Regions from separate parts of the Homo sapiens genome. Here region 2 is linked to region 1. The links are contacts of gene promoters, found by promoter capture Hi-C in blood cells and fetal thymus (Javierre and others, 2016). All regions are on one chromosome and are shown on one strand. The core of a region is centred on a gene start or on the middle of the fragment in contact, and the rest is flanking DNA. Distances in the headings are between cores, read along the strand shown. Region 1 holds the start of C1orf35 (chromosome 1 open reading frame 35). Region 2 holds the start of SDE2 (spliceosome associated SDE2).

What was found. Contacts are between HindIII fragments. The CHiCAGO score rates a contact against its expected background, and 5 or more counts as called.
Region 2: the fragment with the promoter of SDE2 here is called in contact with the fragment with the promoter of C1orf35 in region 1 in 1 of 17 cell types (neutrophils); the score reaches 6.7 in neutrophils.

What each region holds. Positions count from the first base shown.
Region 1 is chr1:228,099,958-228,105,657 of GRCh38, forward strand. It overlaps C1orf35 (chromosome 1 open reading frame 35), which reads right to left and starts at 3,368. Exons shown (of 8, transcript NM_024319.4): 1 at 3,177-3,368; 2 at 2,942-3,092; 3 at 2,686-2,731; 4 at 2,521-2,603; 5 at 2,353-2,425; 6 at 2,123-2,208; 7 at 1,382-1,516; 8 at 774-1,297. The coding sequence starts at 3,270. The coding sequence ends at 1,174. RefSeq lists enhancers at 64-303, 1,414-2,134, 2,135-2,854, 2,855-3,575, 3,576-4,295 and silencers at 2,203-2,282, 2,533-2,702, 2,863-3,132. The HindIII fragment of the contact is 8,620 bases long and covers 1-5,700 here.
Region 2 is chr1:225,997,992-226,003,657 of GRCh38, forward strand. SDE2 (spliceosome associated SDE2) reads right to left here and starts at 1,352. Exons shown (of 7, transcript NM_152608.4): 1 at 1,202-1,352. The coding sequence starts at 1,321. RefSeq lists enhancers at 1,207-1,316, 1,837-1,986, 2,007-2,106, 2,187-2,236 and a silencer at 1,377-1,656. The HindIII fragment of the contact is 16,010 bases long and covers 543-5,666 here.

The DNA.
Region 1 (5,700 bases), core at 2,118-4,617:
CACTGCAACGCTGCATTGAACTGTGATGCAGCCCAGGTGCCATCTGTCTTTATGCCATGCAGCCTGGTGGCCGCACACATCCTGAACAGCCCTGATCCTTCTTAGGGTCAGGCAGAAGGGACACCCAGCCCACTGCCTCTGGAGAAGCGGAGCTGAGGGTTGGGGTAGCAGGCAGTTGGAGGAGCTCCCCAACCCCCACACCCAATTGAGGCTGTGCCTCCACAGACTGCAGTCTTTGACCTCACCTGTCGCAGGGATAGGGCTCCCTGCCCCAGGTTCCCACATTGCCAGCTGAGCACCTGCTTCCAGGGCCTCAGCCCTCCCTGGGTTTTGGTGGGGGCTCTGGGCACACATGGGAGGACTACATTCCCCCAGGACATTAAGAATCAGATGGGCACCGGGGCTCACACCTGTAATCCCAGCACTTTGGGAGGCCAAGGCGGGCGAATCACCTGAGGTCAGGAGTTCAAGACCAGCCTGGCCAACACGGTGAGACCTCGTCTCTACTAAGAAATAACAAAAATTAGCCTGGCGTAGTGGCAGCGCCTGTAATCCCAGCAACTCAGGTTGAGACAGGAAAATCGCTTGAACCCGCGAGGCGGAGGTTGCAGTGAACTGAGATCACACCATTGCACTCCGGCCTGGGCAACAAAAGTGAAACTCAAAAAAAAAAAAAATCACCAGGTCTCAGACTCCTGGGAGACAGACCCCAGCTCCGACGTTCCAGTGGGATCTCATTAACCCCTGATACTGACCTTCCAATTTGATATACCTTCCTTTTAAAATATATTTATTGAAATACAAAGAGTCAATATAAAGAAAAATAGAGGTCACCATACTTGGCCACAGTTAGACCGCTCATAGGCCCATGGCTGCTGCAACCATGGGCAGGACACAGAGGGAGTCCAGCCTCTACTGATAAATCTGGGCAGGTTCACCTTCGCAGGCCAAGCCAGGGGCCATCCCTGGTATGCGAAACCTGGAGGTTTTCCAGGAAGCCGGCTGCTCCAGAGCTAGCTGTCAAGTCTTTAGCCCCACAGGCTGGTGCCCAGAGCCACTTCCACAGGAGCAGCCTCGGGCTTCACCCACACCCAAGGAGCTTCCGAGGCAGGAGGCAAGCAAGGTGAAGGGAGGGTTCAGGGTCCCACAACAGCAGTGAGCAGGGTCCAGCCATCAGGCCTCAGAGCCTCTGTCATGCCACCTGCGAGACGGGCTCCTCCTGTCCCCACTGTGTCCCCGCTTCCTCCTCTTACAGCAGGGGGAGTTGGAGTCGGAGTCATGGTGGTGGTGCCTGGGCCTGGGGAGACCAATGGCAGTCAGTCACTCGGAAGGAGTCAACCAGGCCCCCACCCCCAAGAGGCAGATATGGACCAGGGCATACCTCTCAGGAGATGTGGGAGAGGAGGTGGCCTCAGCTGGCCGCCTGTGCTCTTTGTCTTTCTTCTTCTTCTCTTTCTTGTGTTTCCTCTTTTTCTTTTTCTTCTTCTCCTTCTTGCTTTTCCTGTGGCTCTCACAACTACAAGGAGGATACAAGGTGTGCCTCAGACCCTAGTCTTGCAAGCCAAGAGAGTGAACACAAGCAGGCCCCATCCAGATGAAGCCACCACCCACAAGTGCGTCTTTAAATCAGTTAAATCAAACTACAAATTCCACTCCTCAGTTACGTAGTCACGTGGCCAGTGGCTACGTGGGTTAGAAACAGATGCAATATCCCCATCTCCACAGCACGCCCCTGCCCCACCCCAGCCGTGCCCTTGGCAGGTTGACACCTTCCTACCTGCACCCACCAGGCCACTCTTAGGGTCAGGCCCAGGCTCACCATCCAGGAGAAGCCCTGGAGGTGCCACCCACGGCAGGAAAAGGCCCCGCCCCAGGTCCTGAGTGCCCTCCCACGGCACAGCGCCCGACCACTGCCAGTACTTAGGACCTCTCTTCAAGGGTGACCCGAGAAACTCCCCTAGAGAAAAACCTAGGAGTAACTGGGACAGGAAGTAAAGTAGGGCAGGCCACCCGCCGGGCCGGTGCGCCAAGAGAAGCTGCCACCTGCCCGAGTGGGAGCCGCTCCGGTCCTCCCGAGACCCCCCACCCCGGGGCACAGCTAGCCCAGGTGGCACAGCCTCACCTGCTTTCCGTCTGATCCTCCGCCCGCGGCTTCCTCCTGGCCGAGGCTGCCGAGGTCCCGGGCCCGCCGCTCTCTACGCGGTGATGCTGCGGGAGAAGCGAGCTCTGCGGAGGAGTCTGCGGGCCGGCCCCACACCACGCCCCGCAGCGCCCCGGGGAGCTCCGTTCAGTGCCCCCGCCCCGCCCCACCCCTGTTAGCCCCTGCTGCGGTCAGGCGGGGCGGGGGATTACCGTGAACACAGACAGCCCCAGTTTGGCGGCCTCCTTGTCCTCTCGGGACATCGCCACGCGGCCCACGGAGCCACTGCAGGGACATGGCGATGAAGACAGTACGGCAGGGGTCCGCCTCACCCGAGCAATCGAGCCCAGTGCTGCCCTCCCCTGGAAACCCGCCCGCACCTTGCGCTCCCCAGCCCCAGCAGCCGGTCCACGCCCTTCTCCTCGGGGTCGCCTCCTTCCCGCTTGCAGACCTCCGCGAAGTCCTGCAGGTGCGAGAGCACAGGGAGCGCTCGAGTCGGCCCCACACCCACGGCCCTCCACGCGCCCCCCACCCCGGGGAGTTACCTCCTTGCTCAGGCCCGTGGGCTGCTTCTTCACGTTCTTGTAGCCACTGCGAGAGGGCCGGGGCAGGCGTCAGGACGGACGGACCTCCTCCCACCACAGGTCCTCACCACTCCAGCCTTCGTCCTCAGGGTCCCGCCCGCGCGAGTCCCCGCAGCCCCGCTCCCGCCCAGCCCGACCCCCAGTCCCCGGCCCCGGCCCCACCCTGCCCCGGCAGCGCCGTCCCAGGCACCGACCGCTGCCGTCCGCGGACACTCACAGGGCGGCCAGCAGCGCCTCGCGCTCCGCCTCCCGCACGGCTGCCAGTTCCTCCTCGCGGCTCGGGCCCGCGCATGGCGCCCGGCCCTTGGCGTACCAGGTGAGGTCGCGGCCCTTCTGCCAGCGGCCTACCGGCGCCATCAGCGAGTTGCCTGCGGACGTAGACGCTGTGAGTCCAGCGCCCGCCCGGGATCCCGGAGCCCGGAGCCCGGAGCCCGCCCACCGCGCGCACCCACCCAGGTAGTTCTCCCGCTGCTTGTCAGTCTTCACGTCCTCCCAGTTGAACTGGTCCTGCCCGCCGCGCACGCCTCCACGACTGGAGCCGAACATGGCGCCGGGAAGGCAGTTGCCTGGGGCCTGCGGCTTGCAACCTGCAACCCGCAACCCGAGACCCGCTACCCACTACCGTCGGACCCAGGCCCGACCCCGCCTCCGCGTCGCGCGCCGTGACGTCACTCCCGCGCCCACTCGGCTTCGCCGCGCGCCTCTGCGCAGCGCACTGCCCCGGATCTGTGCTCCCGCGCATCACCTCCACGTCGGCTTTGGGCGCCTGCGCACTGCGCCTACCCTGCCGGGCGCGGGAACGCCTCTGAACTGGAAGTTTAAAAATGGTTAAAACGGGGCCGGGCGGAGTGGCTCTCGCCTGTAATCCCAGCAAGTTGGGAGGCCGAGGCGGGCGGATCGCTTGAGGTCGGGAGTTCGAGACTAGCCTGTCCAACATGGTGAAACCCGGTCTCTACTCAAATACAAAAATTAGCCGGGTGTGGTGGTGCACACCTGTAATTCCAGCTACTCAGGAGGCTGAAGCAGGAGAATCACTTGAGCCGGGAGGCAGAGGTTGCAGTGAGCCGAGATCGCGCCACTGCACTCCCGCCTGGGCGACAGAGCGAGACTGTCTCAAAAATAAGAAGTTAAAATGGGCCAGGCGCGCGCGCGCCCCTGTAGCCCCAACGCTTTGAGGCTGAGGCGGGAGGATCTCGAACCCAGGACTTCGCGCCACTGCACTCCAACCTGAACGAGTGAGCGGACCCTGTCTCATAAAAAAAGAAAAAAGAAAACACACAAGATGCGCCTAGTTAACACCGCCAATTGGTCACTGCTAGTCGCGATTCCATATCGGGAGCTTAACAAGGTAATGACCTTAATGATTTGTGGAATTTCTGAGTATTACCCAGTAAACTTCTGGATGAACCAGCAGCTACCCAGACACCCTCAGAGCACTGGTCCTATCCCTGCCGTGTTAAACTGAATGTGCACCCTAACTCCCATGTGAAATCCTCACCCCAAGGCGTTGGTGCTTCGGAGGTGACTAGGTCATGAGGACAGAGCCTTCATAAAAGGGACCCCAAGAGCTTTGTGCAGCTTTCTACTGTGTGAAGGCAGCGGGAAGGAAGTCTGCAGTCTGGAAGAAACCCCTTACCAGAACCTCAGCGTGCTGGGCACCCTGATTTTGGAGGTTGTGACGTACCCCTGCTTCCCCTTTCCACTTTCATTCCCAGTGCTGACTGAGAAACAGAGTCCCTTGGCCACTCTGTGACTTCGCCAACTGTATAATTTCCTCTGCAGACTTGAACCCGAGCCATAGCCATGAACGTTCCCAGGCACAGATGACAGTAACTAGGTTGTTGCTCAAAACACAGAAAGAAACTGGACTCAGCCTGAGCCAGATTCCTCAAACCCTCATATAAATTCCATTCACCAACCCCCTCCCCCACGGACATACCTAGAGAGAACTTCATTTCTCTCACTGCCTATTGCAAGAACTGCTGCAGCCCACTCTGTACAAAAGCCCCACGAATAAATGCTCTGGGCGAATCACCCTGGCATGCTCAATCTGTAGAATCCTAACCAGCCCCATCTCAGGATGGTGTGGGGCACTCCCTTGTGGGAACTCTACTGCCACCACTTTTGGGGCAATTCCAGCCACAGGTTGAACTGGATGAAATACAGGTCTACTGTCCTGTGGGAAATTTCTGTTTCTTAGTGACCCAGTCCATGGGTCAGGCTGTTAGAGCAGGCTGGCAGACAGCCACACGTCTGGCTCATCTATCTACTTAGCAAGTACTGGCTGCCATCTCCCTCATGAGGCACTGCATGAGCTTTCATCATGGAGCAGGTGCATGGCGAGGGCAGAGCAGCAGGCCACAGCCAGGCACACAGAAGGTGACTGGCCGACTCCCAGGAAGGCTCCCTGGGGTGTAGGGCATCATCTCCTGGGTGCCATTGCAGCTTGCCAGGCCAGGGTGGACTTGGGCCATGTGGGCAGGGCCCAGCTGTGGAGTCTGACCACTGACTGGATGTCAGGTGTGGTGGAGAGGGGATAGCAGGGCCAGGTGGACATTGGGCAGGAGTCCAGGACGGCTCTGAGGCTCTGGTCTGGGCAACTGTGAGGATGAAGCAGCCACCTGTCAACATGAGGACCAGGTTTGTGGGGAAGACCTGGTCAGTTTTGAGCCCATTAGCCTGACAAGCCGTAGGCCACAGGAGGAGGGGTCACCAGGGTGGAGGTTGCATGGCCTGTGCCTGCTGGGTGGAGGCCCAGCTGGGGGCACTGGTCACAGTGGTGTCCTCTGTGACAGCAGCGAAGCTGGACCCAGGAGGGTGGCGGTCAGGGAGTGGAGGGGCAGTGGAGATCCCAGGGGAACCCACTATAGTGGGAGGAGGCTGGGTAGTGGAGGGGGGGGGCCAAGTGAGTGCACAGAGTGGCCGGGCAGCTGGCTCTATATGCCACAGGGATTGAGCCACAACTTCAGAGACGGG
Region 2 (5,666 bases), core at 102-2,601, 2.1 Mb before region 1:
TGGCGGGCGACTGCAATCCCAGCTATTTGGGAGGCTGAGGCAGGAGAACCGCTTGAACTCAGCGAGGCGGAGGTTGCAGTGGGCCGAGATCACGCCATTGCACTCCAGCCCGGGCAACGGGAGTCAAACTCCGTCGGGGGTGGGGGAGGGGGAGAAAAGAACACTGTACTCATGAAATAAGAATTATTTTCAAAGGAATTAGAATGCAATTATTTTCATGGTCAAAAACAGTTGTGCTTACAGTTTTTAGACTGGATTACAGAGCAGGAAGGAAAACATGGAAAGTGAAAAACCGTATTATTTGCAAACACACATTGCTTCTTCACGGAATCGATCCAAGTCTCTTAAAATTTTGGTCTAGACTGCAGTGTTAACATTTGTTAAGCTTATAAATAGTAAGCAGAGGAAATAGCCGAGGAAAGCACGGATGAGGTGCGGAAAGAACAGAGTTCTAGATCAAGTGCCAACATTAAAATTAGATTCAGGGAAACCACTAAATTCTTTTGACAACTGAACAGGTTTAATATCTTATAGCTGGTAAAAGCTTACTTACTTGAAAGTTCAGTAAAAGCTCACGTGTAACTCTGGAAGTCCCTGGTAGGTTTTCACAAATATGCACGGACAAATGAGACCATCAAATTAATAGTGAACACTTCTACGTAACAGGCCCTAAGAACCCAGGCCCTCAACAGGACACACGTGTGAATGCTTGGTCACAACGACTGACCAGAAGAATCAATTTTCCTTCCCAATCATCCTTTGGCCTGGGTTTGGATATGACATACTTCTCTAGGCTGGGGCTAACAAGGCTGTGTGATGAGTGGACAAAATACACGTCACATAACCATAGTAAGAAGGTGAAGACTGGAGCCTTAAAAATCAGCCGGCCCAACTGCCAGAAGACCATTATATTTACGGATAAAGAAAGAGAAACAAAGTATTTGTAACTGTGAGCGGGACTAAGTGCCTGTAACAGTTTTTTTCTCCCTCTTGGTGGGAAGGCAAAACCACCACCACAAAAGAAAAGCAAAGGAAGGTCTCAGTAACAATTCGAAGCACCTTAACACTGAGGAACTCTCAGCCTCAACGAGTGAAAACCCCAGAGAATAAACGTACCCCCGCCCCGGACAGACCTACTCCGCACCCAGCGCTGCCACCTGTCTGCCTCTTTCTCCTTCCTAACAGGAACCGAAATCCTCACCTGATCTTGGCAGTGCCGGTGGATAAAATCCCGGACGGTGCACCGACCCGAGGCACACCGCACCGCCTTGCACCCGAAGCCAGGGCCGCGAATCCACACCAGCGCCGCGGCCTCCGCCATGTCACCGACTACCCGAACCTCAAGCCTCTCTGAGACACCAGGCGCCGCAACTCGCCCGGCGCCTCTTGATGACGCGAGCATCTTCCAACGCCCCGCCCCTCACGCTTCCGTTCACCCCTCCCCTCCCCTGGGGCGGGTCAAGTGAGCCGGGCGGCGGGGCGGTGCGGGCTGGGGGAGGGGAACAGGAAAGGCCTGGCGGAGGCAGATAAGGCGGCAGAGCACGGGGCGAGGCGTTGCTAGGAGAAGTTGCTAGGGCGGGGCTCGAGGGACCGGCTATAAAAGGCTGGCGCTGGGTTAGGTTTCGAGCTTCCTGGCCGTAAGCGATAAGGCTTTAACTGAGAACCACCTTGTGCTGTAGGCTTTGGCCCTTTTCCTCACATCTGTGTAGTTATTTTTGGGTCGCGGAGAATTGTGGCCCGAGAAGGCTCTGCTCCTTGAGAGTGTGGGGAGAGAAGCTGCAGTCCCGGAAGCGGTTTTAGGGGGCCGCTTCCTTGGCCTAGAGGAGCTCCCCAACCCGAGGGGGCAAGGGAAACGACCCCCAGGAGGCCCCTAAACAGTGGCCGGCGTGGTTTCTCCTCCAGCTTTACAGAGCCTTCTCTTCCCCTCCAGAAACAGCCAACCTCCGGGTTTCTGCCTGCCACGCACGGTTTATTCTTATTTCCGCCTGTTTGTGCACTGCGTTATCTCCACTTCAGCTCTGTTTTCAAAATATTTCACAGCAAGTGGGCTCTTGTGAAAGGCAGTGACAGGAGTGACGTTTATAGTCATGCTGCTTCAAAAAACCCTACCATAACTTTTATTCTGCACCATGGAAACACACTCGGACAGATTTGCATAACGTAACCTTAAGGCTCAGGGAATCCGAAAGAGTCCCTTAATATTTAACAGAATGAGATTATGGTATTTCTAAAACCCTGAACAATTCAAAAGCCACCAGTGTGAAGATAGGAAGGTTATTTGGAGATATCTGTGCCTGCTAAACACAAATGCATCGGCCCACAGAATTGCCTTCTCTGCTGTTAAAATGCTTGGCAAATGGAACTCCTAGCTGAGGGGGTAACAACAAAAAATTCAGAAATCGTTTAGCGGTGGCAGTATGTGCGAAAATGGAATTTCAAGGCCTGGGAAGTTAATAGATTCAGTGGTCTTTATTTCACACACGAGGGAAAGTTGGGGAGAGAAAGGGCCTCCATGGGGATGCCAGTAGATAAATAAAAATTACAAAAAAAAAAATAATAAAGATAGATTGTACTGGCCGGGCGCGGTGGCTCATGCCTGTAATCCAGCACTTTGGGAGACTGAGGCGGGCGGATCTCGAGGTCAGGAGTTCGAAACCAGCCTCACCAACATGGTGAAACCCCATCTCTACTAAAAATACAATAATTAGCCGGGCGTGGTGGTGCGCGTCTGTAATCCCAGCTATTCAGGAGGCTGAGGCAGGAGAATCGCTTGAACCCGGGAGGCAGAGGTTGCAGTGAGCTGAGATCGTGCCATCGCACTCCAGCCTGGGCGACAGAGAGAGTCTCCGTTTCAGAAAAAAAAGATATATTGTACCTAGGAAGCAGTATTTCGGAAAGGTGGTGCCATGGCAACCCTGGGGCGTGAAGGTGTCGCCAGGTTACATGTAAGCCGTCCAAACTCCAGAAACCTCAAGTCCCTCTGCAGTCTGCTCCCCAGCTCTCTGTCCTCCAGGTTCCTGAAAAAGTAATCTACAGATCTGAGCCTTAAGCCTCTTCTTTTTTTATTTGTGATTTCTTCCTTCTGGTGATCAAAAATGACTATTTCAAATAAATAAATAATTTTTTTAAATGACCATTTCAAAGGTCTGAGATCCTACAAGTAACTGTATAAAGGTCAGTTTGGGTTTCCAAAACATTTTTTGTGTCGGGATAATGCTTCGTGTCTTGTGAGGAATTATTATGATTAGTCTTTTTTTTCTTTCTTTCTTTCTTTTTTGAGACACTCGCTCTGCCACCTGGGCTGGAGTGTAGTGGCGCAATCATAGCACACGCAGCCTTGAACTCCTGGGCTCAAGTGATCTGCCACAGACTCCAGATGGATTACAGGTGCATGCCACCACACCTGGCTAATTTTTAAATTTTTTGTAAAGACGAGTTTTTCGCTAAGTTGCCCAGGCTGGTCTTGAACTCTTGGGCTCAAAAGATCCTCCCGCCTCAGCCTCCCAAAGTGCTGGGATTACAGGCGTGACCTGCCGTGCCTGGCATAAGTAGTACTTTCCAGTAAGGAAACTCCACATCATTTATTACTAACATTATATTTAGTCCTCATAAAACCTGATGTCTGAATGGAATTTTTCGCTTTTTATCCCTCTGTTGCATTTAAATTCCTATTATTTAAAGAATCCCAAGTATTGAATAGGTATTTGTCATTTAAAATATGAAATAACCATTGATATTAGCTTTTGAAAGACACAAATTTCCAAGTAATATATAATTTGTTGTTAAAACTTCAAAATGAGCGTGTAGTACCATGACATGTACAGAGTAGATATTAAGTAAATATTAGTTGGATACTTGATGGATTACTAAGGTAGAAGTTAATTATTCTCAATGTACATATGATGAAATATATTTTGCACTAATATAACAATCTATTGTAAGGATGCAGAATTTAACTTGGATTGCTATTAAATTCCTTTAAAGAATGAGGAAATTGAAGCATGTAAAGTTAGGGCTATGGCCAAGAACACAGTGCACATCAGTGAAAAAAAAAAAATCTAGAAAGACAGCTATTAGCTGGGTTACTATGGGTGTGTGGTAGCTTCCAGTTGACAGTGCTATGTGGCGGGGCTGATCAGTGATTATGGAAAAGAGCCAACTGCTGCTACCTTTCCCACCTCATGACGTCAGGGAAGGCACAGGAAGGCACGTGTGTGGTTGTGACAACTAAATGGTGAGTGGGAGGGGGGCCAGTTCCTCTATTGTCTACATAGTGTGGCCATGCTCCTCAGACTATATTTGGTGTGCTTTCCAGTAAACCACACTGGCTTTGTTCCTGCCTATGTTCTCCAGAAGAATGCTCTGGCCACACATTTGCCTTTTGAGGACTGGTTCTGCTGCCGTGAGAGGGACACTGGGAGGGCATCTTGAGGCAATGTGGAATAATTGTTCACTGCCAGGAAATGACAGCACCAGACAGACAATGTTTGTGTGGCAACCCATGACAGGGGCTCAATCGAGCCAAATGTCATGCTGGTCTGCAAGAACAGGAAGCAGAACTGTATGCTGGCAATTTCCATAAACAGCAGCCACGCTCCTAAACTAGTGAATCGATATCCATGTGTGACATGCAAGTCGCACTTCTGTGTTTTCAGCCATGTTTGTGCGCAGAGAGGAAAGGTGGTTGCTAATACCTTATTTATGACAAAAGACAATGGGACAGGCTGACTCCTTCTGTGCCAGAAATGCAAAAATGCCATAAACCCCCAAATTGGCAAGTGTTGCCTTATAGATGGCTCCAGCCCCAGGGACAATGAGGTCAGCTCCTAGGATGGAAAAACAGCATCTGGGTGAGAGCTGTGTAGTCCACAGCGGGTGGTGGATGGTGTGGGAGGTGGAGCCTGAAGCAAGTCCCAAGATGCTGGCTGTCAGGGAAGGCACAGCCCCGCCCTCCTTCCTTATTGGATGGAAGAAAACAGGACAATGGTGAGGTGGAGTTGAGAGGCAGAGAAGGGTTGTGTTCAGCACTGACACTGGAAAGGAGCATGAGAGGGCAGAAAAGAACACTAGGGTAGAGGTGCAGAGCAGAGATAAAAAGTTGGCCTCACAGTCAGTGCTGAGTGTAGAAGCCCACCTCTTTGTAGTATCAGCAAGACAAAAGGACCGTCCTTCAGAGTGGACTTCCGCCAATAAATTCTATCACTCCCAGTTGCTCTAGATATTACCTTGTTTGCATTATCATGACAACACTAGCTTACAAAGCCCTACTGGTTATCATTACTCTTATCATCACCATCAAACAATGCTGTTTCATTTAAAAAATAAAATTTCTATATTATTCACTGTACTAAAACTATAAAGCAAAACTAGCATAGTGCCTATCTTCCAGAAATTTAGTATCTCAGTACTAGAATTTTTTTCAACATTGAACTTGATTTCTCTCTGGTCAATAAAAATCCATGATCCTGTTTGAATTCTGTATAGCCAAGCATTTCAAAGAGGGATTTTCTTGCTGGAGAAGTGATAGGCCTTTGGGGGTAGTTTAATTAGTTGACATTGGTGTATGTCTACTCTATTAGGGTTTTCCAGAGAAACAGAACCAATAGGATGAATGGATGGATGAATAGACAGATAGATCAATAAATACATAGATAGATAATAAGGAA